Linked DNA regions of Homo sapiens: regions 1 and 3 are each linked to region 2. The links are contacts of gene promoters, found by promoter capture Hi-C in blood cells and fetal thymus (Javierre and others, 2016). All regions are on one chromosome and are shown on one strand. The core of a region is centred on a gene start or on the middle of the fragment in contact, and the rest is flanking DNA. Distances in the headings are between cores, read along the strand shown. Region 1 holds the start of RBM33 (RNA binding motif protein 33). Region 2 holds the start of BLACE (B cell acute lymphoblastic leukemia expressed). Region 3 holds the start of HTR5A (5-hydroxytryptamine receptor 5A).

Region 1 (3,519 bases), core at 683-3,182, 280 kb before region 2:
GCGGGTACAGGAGCAGTCCATGCGATGAACTTCCAGGATAAAGGAAGCAATCACACAACATGCTGGTGGGGTAGGCAGGGACCAAGTCATACAGAACTCACAAATCTTGGCAAGGAGTTTGGTATGAAGAGCAAAGGAAACTTTGGCACTTGTGACAAAATGGAAGGAAAAACTCCAAAGCATCATGAATAAAGCCTACTTATTCTTCTAAAATAGCAATTCTCAAAACTTCTGACCTCAAAATTATTGAAGACCCAAAAATGCCTGTTTATCTGGATTACATTCAGTGATATTACTATTTTAGAAATTTAAAATGAGAAACGTAAAAGAATACACAAGCATATATTCCATTAGCCATCAGCATAACGTCTTCACATGTTATTCAGCCTCTAGAAAACTCCACTGTACACTACTGAAAGAAAAGAGAAAAAATACAAATAACACCTTAGTCTTTCTAATGAAAAGAGTGTTCACCCAAGAGTTCCCAGGTTACACTGGGAATGCTATAAAACAAGTAATTCTGACCCCCAGAAAGATAGGTGAACTATACATTTTAAAATTTTAATTAGTCTCAGATGTAACACGCAAACATCATGTATTTAAACTGAAAGAAAAGTGGCATATAGCAAACCAAATTGCCAGAAGCGACATTCCTACACTTAGTCTTTTTTGTTTTTCCATTTTGTCAGGCAAACGTTTTGACAGTTGGGCCAAAATTCCTAAACAGGATGATAACAACGTAACCATCTGCTAGCATTTACTAAAAAATACTTCTCGAGTATACACTAGACTGGCTTTTCAACGTTTCAATGGTAAGAACTAATCCCAAATGCTTTTGTTATCCATATTTTACCATCTTTTCAAAGTTTTCAAAATAATCACTTAAAAAGTCACTTTCAAGTATCTCTCCACGTTTTTAAAACCCCCAGTGATATGTAATTTTACCTGAAAGTAATTTACCTACAATTTTTTAGAGATAGGTGTTTCATCAATACTGTTTATGCTTGCAAACAAGAAAAACTATCCAAAGGAACTGACTCAGTATCTAAACCTTTTGTGTCACGTTTTCACTTTTGGAAGACGCACATAAAACACTAACAGGTTATTAGACAACAAATAAGTTAATTTAAAACAGGGATTTATTGAGACTTTCTCAAGAAATCTCACTTTCCAAACTGGCCTACTGTCGCACATTCCTTCACACAGGTGAATCTTTTCGTTATGTTTTTGTAATGGGCTTCAAATCAATCTAAATCTGTCAGGATGGCCCCACAATCTTAAACACCCACCCTACAGCGACCTGCCCCGCTCTCCCTAAGTGACACTGTCTCGGGGGGTGGGGGGGGCGCTCTCCTACCCATAGGACACCAGGCCGGCTTCGGCACTTAATGCCCGCCAACGCCAGAGATGGGCCTGACACTTAGGCAGCCTTGCAAAGTAGAGGACACACAGAAGTTCACAGGTAAGTACGATCTGCACAGCGGAGAGGAGGAGCGAGAAAGGGAGAATGACAATAGCGAGGGAAGGCGAGGGAGAAAACGGAATAGGCCGAACACAAAGAGAGTCGGAGCCGGGGAGAGCCTCGTCCTCTCCTAAGCGGGGAGGCCCCCCGGCCTACACCCCCGCCCACCGCGGCGCGGTCCTGGCCCCCAGAGTCCGGCTGCCTCACGTACCTCCGGCGCCTGCTCCTCCGCTCGCTCCCAGGGCGGCCGCCATGGCACTCGCGGGGCCCGGCCTTCAGCCTCCCCCACCAAGCCAGCTGGTGGGCCGACGTGCCTGGTCCGGGCCCGGGTACGGGTGACGGAGGACAGAGAAGGGAGGGGGCTGCAGGAGGCAGAGGCGAAGCCGGGCGCTTCGCGGTCCACAGCTGGCCCTTCGCCTCCGCAGGAAGAAAACAACAAACTACCGCAACATGGCCGCGCGCCCGCGCCCGCCGCGGTGCACCCTGGGATGATGGAGGCCGGGAGGCGGGCGGGCGCCGGGGCCTGCCCCCGCCGAGGCCGCAGCAGCCCTGAGGCCGCCGCCGTGTTTCGGGCGGTGGGCGTGCAACGCAAACACGCGGCAGTCACCTCCGCCCGGCTCCTGAAACCCAAATGTTTGAAGCAGGGCGGGGACGACTGCTGGCCATAGGTCGATTCCGGGTTCAGTCGTAAGGCGCTTTGCAGCAGTCGGCAAAGCGAAGCTTTACGGCAGCCCGTCTCCCGTTAGGAGCCGGGGAGGCAAGGTCCAGCGTACGGTCCGGGGGAACCTTAACTGTCGTTTCTGTGCCTGGACAGTAGGTTGGAGAGTGGGGTCTGAATGAGCTACAGTAGTGAACGCCGACGGCTTGTGTTGAGGGCAGGAAAGGGTGCACACAGCTCCGGCAGGTGCTTCCGCGAGGTGAGATGAGTGCCGCGCGCGCCGGGCTAACGTGCACGCGCACTCGTGCGGCGCCCGCGAGCCCTCACTTCCTACAACCCGAGACCCTCCGGACCCGCGACCCCGGACCCCCGTCCCCTTCTCCGCGCCCGGCTGGGCAGCGGGCAGCGCCGGACCCTGATGGGCTCTCGGCCCTTACTGCCCCTGCGCCTTGCGGCCCTGAGAACAAGACGTGAGCAGGACGGATAGCGCCCGGCACTCATGTCTGAGTTTGCATTTTGAGCAGTGAGAAAGGTTAAGAAACGAAATCCTCATACTTGACATAAAGGAAAGGGTGCTGGGTGGTCAGACAGCTGTGGACGAAAGGGCTCAGGGGTTTTGGGGTGTGGGGCCCGGGAAGGCGCATCTGAGTGGTCGCAGTCGGGGAAGGGGGTTGATTAAGTACACACCGGCTGTAAACATTGATTCCATATCGGTCAATGTGGGGCTTAGGTGAGGCGTTCTGACCCAGCAATGAAACTGGAAAGGTAGGCAGGGGCCAGGATTCCGGACTTTGGGACGTTTTTCTGAGTCTATGGGGTCTATTGAAAGATTTTAGAAACAATTTACATGGTAAGATTTGTATTTTAGAAAGGTGACTGATACAACAACGTAGAGGACCCTGCAATGTGGAGAGGCATGAAACTGGAGGTCCAGTGCCGTGAGTTAACAATCAAGACGTCCATACAGGAGATGCATTGGTGGATGGGTGAAGAGATGATAAAACGGTACGTATAATAAAATGCTGGCCGGGCGCGGTGGCTCACGCCTGTAATCCCACCACTTTGGGAGGCTGAGGTGGGTGGATCACGAGGTCAGGAGTTTGAGACCAGCCTGACCAACATGGTGAAACCCCGTCTCTACTAAAAATACAAAAATTAGTTGGGCGTGGTGGCACGCGCCTGTAATCCCAGCTACTCAGGAGGCTGAGGCAGGAGAATTGCTTGAATCGAGGAGGCGGAGGTTGCAGTGAGCCGAGATTGCGCCACGGCAATCCAGCCTGGGTGACAGAGCGAGATTCTGTCTCAAAAAAAAACAAAAAAATTATTCAACTGTGAGAACTCACTCCCCAAAAAAAATGTTTTGCAAGCAACTCATTGAAAAATGGTCTCTATTAAAAAG
Region 2 (3,441 bases), core at 706-3,205:
TTGGAGTGATCACAGGATGTCCGTCCGAGTTTCACAGTTAGCGAGCTGCTGAGCTGAGCCGAGCTGAGGGTTGGCAGGGTAGAGTCCTATGGGAGAAACACTGCTTGGATCACAGAGATTTCTGTGTATCAGGAACCAACAAATACTAAGTAAGCACTTGCTGTGGCTAAATGCTTACCACATCGGCTGAGTAGGGGGTGTGCAGATGGGGGAGTCCCACAGCCCCCAAAACCAGCTACAACATCCACGTTTTACTCAGACAAGGGGCCCTCAAGCACCACCTCATGCCGAAGTGCTGCTTCACGTGAATAGAGCTAGGATTCTAAGCCAAAAGGCCTTTCTAGAACTTTCTGCATGTACCAAAGAAGCTGCTTCCACCTCACTGCCTCCTTTCCACTGTTAGTGTTCTGCTGAGGCTTCTCTTGGGCTCTGCCTCTCCCTGCCCAACACCTGAGAAAGGCCTGATCAGTGCTGGAGGCACTGGGTGGCACCTCTCCTGCGGACGTGCTTCCCACGTAAGGCAGGTATAGGGAGACCTGCCTGTCTAGAAAGACATATGTTTACATGTCAGAGAGAAACACAACACCTGCACTCTCTAACCATTTCCTGAAAGACCCCTCTTGACACACCTTAGGGGCTTCAGGGCCACACTGCCTGGCACAGCTGGTTCCCAGTGTGGACCTGTCTCCACTGCCAGCCCCTGCCCCACCCTCTCCACCTGAGTCCTGATCCCTGGTGACCAAGAGAGGCTGTGCTGCTTCTGGCCTTCACAGTAAGCCAGATGGCCTGGGAAGCGAGACTCTCTCTGCCTCCCAGCACTCCAGGCTGCAGTTGCTGTTTCATCATCCATGGGTGTAAAACACCAAGCAAGTGACATGATACAGAATGACCTCCCTGTGCTGGCAGTGGCACCACAGAAACAGGAAGACTCAGAGCCAGAAGCTGCCTGCGCAGATTGCCATTATGGAGCCTGGGAAATCAAGTCCTAGAAAGATTATCTGTTTTTTTTTTTTTTTTTGAGATAGGAGCTTGCTCTGTCGCCCAGGCTGGAGTGCAGTGGTGTGATCACTGCTCACTGCAGCCTCTGCCTTCTGGGCTCAAGCAATCCTCTAGCTTCATCCTCCCAAGTAGCTGGGACTACAGGCATGCGCCGCCATGCTTGGCTAATTTTTTAAACTTCTTGTAGAGACAAGGTCTCACTATGTTGCCCTGGTTGGTCTTGAACTCCTTGGCTCCAGTGATCCGCCTGCCTCCAGTGATCCTCCCACCTCGGCCTCCCAAAGTGCTGGGATTACAGGCATGAGCCACTGTACCTGTCCTAGAAAGATTAAAGGATACCTCTACGTCTACCTCTACCTCTACCTCTACCTCTACCTCTACCTCTACCTCTACCTCTAACCTCTAACCTCTAACCTCTAACCTCTACCTCTACCTCTACCTCTACCTCTCCCCACGGTCTCCTTCCACGGTCTCCCTCTGATGCCGAGCCGAAGCTGGACTGTACTGCTGCGATCTCGGCTCACTGCAACCTCCCTGCCTGATTCTCCTGCCTCAGCCTGCCGAGTGCCTGTGATTGCAGGCACGCGCCGCCACGCCTGACTGGTTTTCGTTTTTTTTTGGTGGAGACGGGGTTTCGCTGTGTTGGCCGGGCTGGTCTCCAGCTCCTAACCGCGAGTGATCCGCCAGCCTCGGCCTTCCGAGGTGCTGGGATTGCAGACGGAGTCTCGTTCACTCAGTGCTCAATGGTGCCCAGGCTGGAGTGCAGCGGCGTGATCTCGGCTCACTACAACCTACACCTCCCAGCCGCCTGCCTTGGCCTCCCAAAGAGCCGAGATTGCAGCCTCTGCCCGGCCGCCACCCCGTCTGGAAAGTGAGGAGCGTCTCTGCCTGGCCGCCCATCGTCTGAGAGGTGGGGAGCACCTCTGCCTGGCAACCACCCCGTCTGAGAAGTGAGGAGCCCCTCCGTCCAGCAGCCACCCCGTCTGGGAAGTGAGGAGCGTCTCCGCCCGGCAGCCACCCCGTCCGGGGGGGAGGTGGGGGGGGTCAGCCCCCCGCCCGGCCAGCCGCCCCGTCCGGGAGGTGAGGGGCTCCTCTGCCCGGCCGCCCCTACTGGGAAGTGAGGAGCCCCTCTGCCCGGCCAGTCGCCCCGTCCAGGAGGGAGGTGGGGGGGTCAGCCCCCCGCCCGGCCAGCCACCCAGTCCGGGAGGGGGGAGGGGGGTCAGCCCCCTGCCCGGCCAGCCGCCCCGTCCGGGAGGGAGGTGGGGGGATCAGCCCCCCGCCTGGCCAGCCGCCCCGTCCGGGAGGTGAGGGGCGCCTCTACCCGGCCGCCCCTACTGGGAAGTGAGGACTCCTCTGCCCGGCCAGCCGCCCCGTCCGGGAGGGAGGTGGGGGGTCAGCCCCCCGCCCGGCCAGCCGCCCCGTCCGGGAGGGAGGTGGGGGGATCAGCCCCCCGCCTGGCCAGCCGCCCCGTCCGGGAGGTGAGGGGCGCCTCTGCCCGGCTGCCCCTACTGGGAAGTGAGGAGCCCCTCTGCCCGGCCAGCCGCCTCGTCCGGGAGGGAGGTGGGGGGTCAGCCCCCCGCCCGGCCAGCCGCCCCGTCCGGGAGGGAGGTGGGGGGATCAGCCCCCCGCCCGGCCAGCCACCCCGTCCGGGAGGTGAGGGGCGCCTCTGCCCGGCCGCCCCTACTGGGAAGTGAGGAGCCCCTCTGCCCGGCCAGCCGCCCCGTCCGGGAGGGAGGTGGGGGGTCAGCCCCCCGCCCGGCCAGCCGCCCCGTCCGGGAGGGAGGTGGGGGGATCAGCCCCCCGCCCGGCCAGCCGCCCCGTCCGGGAGGTGAGGGGCGCCTCTGCCCGGCCGCCCCTACTGGGAAGTGAGGAGCCCCTCTGCCCGGCCAGCCGCCCCGTCCGGGAGGGAGGTGGGGGGGTCAGCCCCCCGCCCGGCCAGCCGCCCCGTCCGGGAGGTGAGGGGCGCCTCTGCCCGGCCGCCCCTACTGGGAAGTGAGGAGCCCCTCTGCCCGGCCAGCCGCCCCGTCCGGGAGGGAGGTGGGGGGGTCAGCCCCCCGCCCGGCCAGCCGCCCCGTCCGGGAGGTGAGGGGCGCCTCTGCCCGGCCGCCCCTACTGGGAAGTGAGGAGCCCCTCTGCCCGGCCAGCCGCCCCGTCCGGGAGGGAGGTGGCGGGGGTCAGCCCCCCGCCCGGCCAGCCGCCCCGTCCGGGAGGTGAGGGGCGCTTCTGCCCGGCCGCCCCTACTGGGAAGTGAGGAGCCCCTCTGCCCGGCCACGACCCCGTCTGGGAGGTGTGCCCAGCGGCTCATTGGGGATGGGCCATGATGACAATGGCGGCTTTGTGGAATAGAAAGGCGGGAAGGGTGGGGAAAAAATTGAGAAATCGGATGGTTGCCGGGTCTGTGTGGATAGAAGTAGACATGGGAGACTTTTCATTTTGTTCTGT
Region 3 (3,304 bases), core at 383-2,882, 300 kb after region 2:
AAGGGTGTTATAGATCCATAGAATTTGGGGGCCAAAGGGGACCCTGCAGAATGACGCAGTCTGAACTCCTCGTGTTCTGTATATTTAACAAACAACCCATTAGAGAAGGAACATGATATGATTAGCCCTGTGAGAGGGAACATGTCAGAGCAAAGTACATCTCTGATGCTTTCTTCCACTCTCCCAGTTTACTCCCCCCACTCCCAAACACAAAAAGTTCCATTTTCTACAAGTGTGGGGGTGGGGCAGGTGGCCTGGGGATATAGCCTGTACAGATGCAAGTCGAGTATTTTTAAGGATTGCTGAGATACCCACCTCCACAGCTTCGGATATGGGTGAGACGCTATTGGTCTTCCTGGAGCCCACGCGGAACTTGGCAGCCTTGTAGATCTTCCAGTACACGAAGAGCACCACACAGAGCGGCAGGTAGAAGGCGCCTACGGTGGAGAACACGGCGTAGGAAGGCTCGCGGCTTACCTGGCACTCCTCGCTGCCCTCAGAGTACGTCTCTCCCCAGCCAAAAAGCAGCGGGGCCAGAGAGATGACAGCGGAGAGTGCCCAGGTGAGCGCGATCATGACGTTGGAGACGCACTTGCGGGTGCGGAGCGTGTATTCCATGTGGCGCGTGATGGACCAGTAGCGGTCCAGGGCTATGGCCGTCACGTTCCAGATGCTGGCCGTGCAGCAAAGCACGTCGCACGCGATCCAAAGCTGGCACAGCCTCCGACCTAGCTGCCAGCGGCGCCCGGACAGCTCGTGCACCAGGCTCAGCGGCATGACCAGCGCGGCCACCAGGACATCCGAGACGGCCATGGATGCCACCAGGTTGTGGGGCACGCGGTGGAAGGTGCGTACACGGAGGATGGTCGCCAGCACCAGCAGGTTCCAGGCGAACGTCGCCGCCACCAGAAAGCCCAGCAAGGTGAGAATAAGCACTCCGAAGACCGAGAGCAGGGGCGAGCTGGGGCGCAGGTCGTCTTTGCCGAGGCTGTGGTTGGTCTCCAAAGGGGAGGGGGTGGAGAGGGAAAAGGAGGTTAGGTTCACAGGTAAATCCATCTCTGGGTCAGGAGACCGCCCTGGGGTACTTGCAGAAGGGGTGTTCAGGAGGACTTAAGGCGGCCACTGTGCCCAGAGCCAATCCGGATGTTTGCAACCTCTGGCCAGTGGGGGAGTTTCTGGAAAGTGCCTGTGAATTTGGCCCCAATTTCCTGCTAGTGAGCATCCGTTGGAGATGGTGTGGCTGCAAGCGCGGCAGGTCTGAAGCCCTCAGAGGCTAAGGAAGCAGAGGCGAGGGGCTGCGTGTCGCAGCCAGGGCCCGCCTAAGCTGTCAGGAGCCCAGGGCTCCTCGCCTTGGTGGAAAGGCTGTTTGGCCGCCCAGAGCCGAGCATCTCCCAGATCGGGGAGAAGCTGGGCGGCCAGCAGCGTGTGGGTGCAGGAGAGGGGCTGGTGCGTCAGAGCAGTCGCTCTCACCGCGTTGTCTCCCTGCCCACCCTTCTCTCTAGGCAGCCGGCTGCAGCCTTAACTCCGTGCTAGGGAAGCCAGTTTTGGGGGAACCTGCTTTCTGGGACCTGCCTTCTGTCCCTGTTGCCCCCGCCACCCCTTCGGAGGCTGCAGCTCCGGAGAGCGAATGCTGGCGCGCCCACCGAGACCTGCCTTATCCAAGTGGAGATCTAGCCCTACGTAAGCCATCAGCTGATAAGGCCATCTCTCCCCGCCTCCTGGCTCAGAGCGCGCGGCTTTGGGGCTGTCCGCGGTGCTGCTGCGCTCCCCGCGCCTGGCGGCTCCCAGTGTGCGCCACCACATGTGGTGCTGTCCGCGGTGCTGCCACCTCGCCCCGCCCGGGAGCAGGAGGGTTGGCGCTGTCCACGGTGCTGCCTCTCTTGCCTGAAATGAGTTTGCCACGTTGAACAAGTTGACCAATGAACTTTCCTCAAAACGTTCCCCTAGCCACCCCCACACGTCCCTCTAGGGGTGGACTGGAGGCCCTAGACACTGCTTTCTCAGCTTTCCATAAGTATTTACTCTTCCTGCAAGAGTTCTGAATTAGGGGTCTAAGATAGTTTCACTAACTTTTGTTCTCCGGAAGATTTTAGCACGTGATTGCTTTCTTCTTACCCAGCTCTCAGTTGCTTCCCTTAAGGGTTGTTTTCCTTAAAGGAGGAGAGGCGAGATAGCAGTTGCTGCTGTTCCTAGAGATGGTTGAGGTGTTGGAGCTAGAATGCTTCACCTGGCTCCAACAGGAATGGCTGAAGAATGCTTTATCTCCTCAGAGTCATAAGGCAGATGGGTAGTCTCCAGTGGTCCCTACTAAATTTGCTTCCTGAGAAGGAAAAATTGGGATACAAGTTATTATAAGAGCTCCATCTCACTCAAAAGAAAGAGGTAATTTAACTCTCCCCTCACACATGCACACAAAACAACCACAAACACATCCACAGAAACTGAGAAAATATCAGAAGCTTCTAACCAGAAATTATGATTGAAAGCACCTCATAAAGAGGCACATGATATAGCAATATAAAAGAAGTTGAAATTTTAAAAATGATGGACAGAAATGGCAGGAAAAAAGTAAGGTGTTAATAAGCTTTGTTTTTAAGTATATAAAATGAGTGTCGTGAAATCCTGTGCATTTACAAGTAAATTTAGTCAGAAAGTTTTAACTATTTAAAGATTAGCAACATGTTTTCATATAAGATTTTGTTTCTTGCAGAGTAAAACAAGTATCAGGAGAATGCACTGAGAAAAGAGAAAGTCCTCCACTGGAACCTAGAGGACGGGACAACATCATTAAATACCGGATTATTCACAGGGCTGTTTCAAACACCACTTAAAAACAGCTGATGGTGACTGCCTGCATGCAGAGCAACTGTGCATGGCCCCAATCTGGAAGCAAGCTTGTGCTTCTTTAAGGCAAATCACCTTCTTGAGGTCATGGAACTAATGGGAATGAGATGTAAACTATGAATCCTCTTCTTTGGAAAAAGTTCTGCATCTAGTCTCAGGGCCTGTTATCTGGAGGAATGGATGAACTGTGTTGCCCACAGGCGGGCCTCAATGGATCTCTATGAATCTTGAAAGGCATTATGGGCTTGTGATTATATTCCCTACTGATTCCCCAGGCCACAGCTGTCTGTATTGATAGCTAAGTGAGCAGCAGAATAGTTAATAAGGACAAAGCCAAGGATGACTGAGGATAATTTGTGAAAAATAGAGTGTCATAAATTTAGGGACTGAATAGAATATTCCCACAAAGGAGAGATCCAATGGAGCATTTCCAGAAGGGACAAACCCTGTTCAGAAAGTC

What was found. The method cuts DNA at HindIII sites, captures the fragments that hold promoters and counts their contacts. A CHiCAGO score of 5 or more calls a contact.
Region 1: the fragment with the promoter of RBM33 here is called in contact with the fragment with the promoter of BLACE in region 2 in 7 of 17 cell types (monocytes, total B cells, neutrophils and 4 more); the score reaches 8.5 in monocytes.
Region 3: a contact is called between the fragment with the promoter of HTR5A here and the fragment with the promoter of BLACE in region 2, in 2 of 17 cell types (fetal thymus and megakaryocytes). The highest score is 7.6, in fetal thymus.

What each region holds. Positions count from the first base shown.
Region 1 is chr7:155,643,074-155,646,592 of GRCh38, reverse strand. RBM33 (RNA binding motif protein 33) reads right to left here and starts at 1,932. Exons shown (of 18, transcript NM_053043.3): 1 at 1,674-1,932. The coding sequence starts at 1,716. RBM33-DT (RBM33 divergent transcript) reads left to right here and starts at 2,187. Exons shown (of 3, transcript NR_126344.1): 1 at 2,187-2,379; 2 at 2,989-3,125. RefSeq lists a silencer at 1,605-2,114 and an enhancer at 2,039-2,993. The HindIII fragment of the contact is 4,649 bases long and covers 1-2,184 here.
Region 2 is chr7:155,366,447-155,369,887 of GRCh38, reverse strand. BLACE (B cell acute lymphoblastic leukemia expressed) reads left to right here and starts at 1,955. Exons shown (of 6, transcript NR_103545.1): 1 at 1,955-2,079. It overlaps LOC105375593 (a long non-coding RNA gene), which reads right to left. Exons shown (of 3, transcript XR_928236.4): 3 at 1-86. The HindIII fragment of the contact is 7,901 bases long and covers 1-3,441 here.
Region 3 is chr7:155,068,652-155,071,955 of GRCh38, reverse strand. HTR5A (5-hydroxytryptamine receptor 5A) reads right to left here and starts at 1,632. Exons shown (of 2, transcript NM_024012.4): 1 at 316-1,632. The coding sequence starts at 1,056. HTR5A-AS1 (HTR5A antisense RNA 1) reads left to right here and starts at 399. Exons shown (of 2, transcript NR_038945.1): 1 at 399-922; 2 at 2,711-3,304. RefSeq lists enhancers at 257-1,083, 1,871-1,940 and a silencer at 1,671-1,760. The HindIII fragment of the contact is 4,035 bases long and covers 1-2,461 here.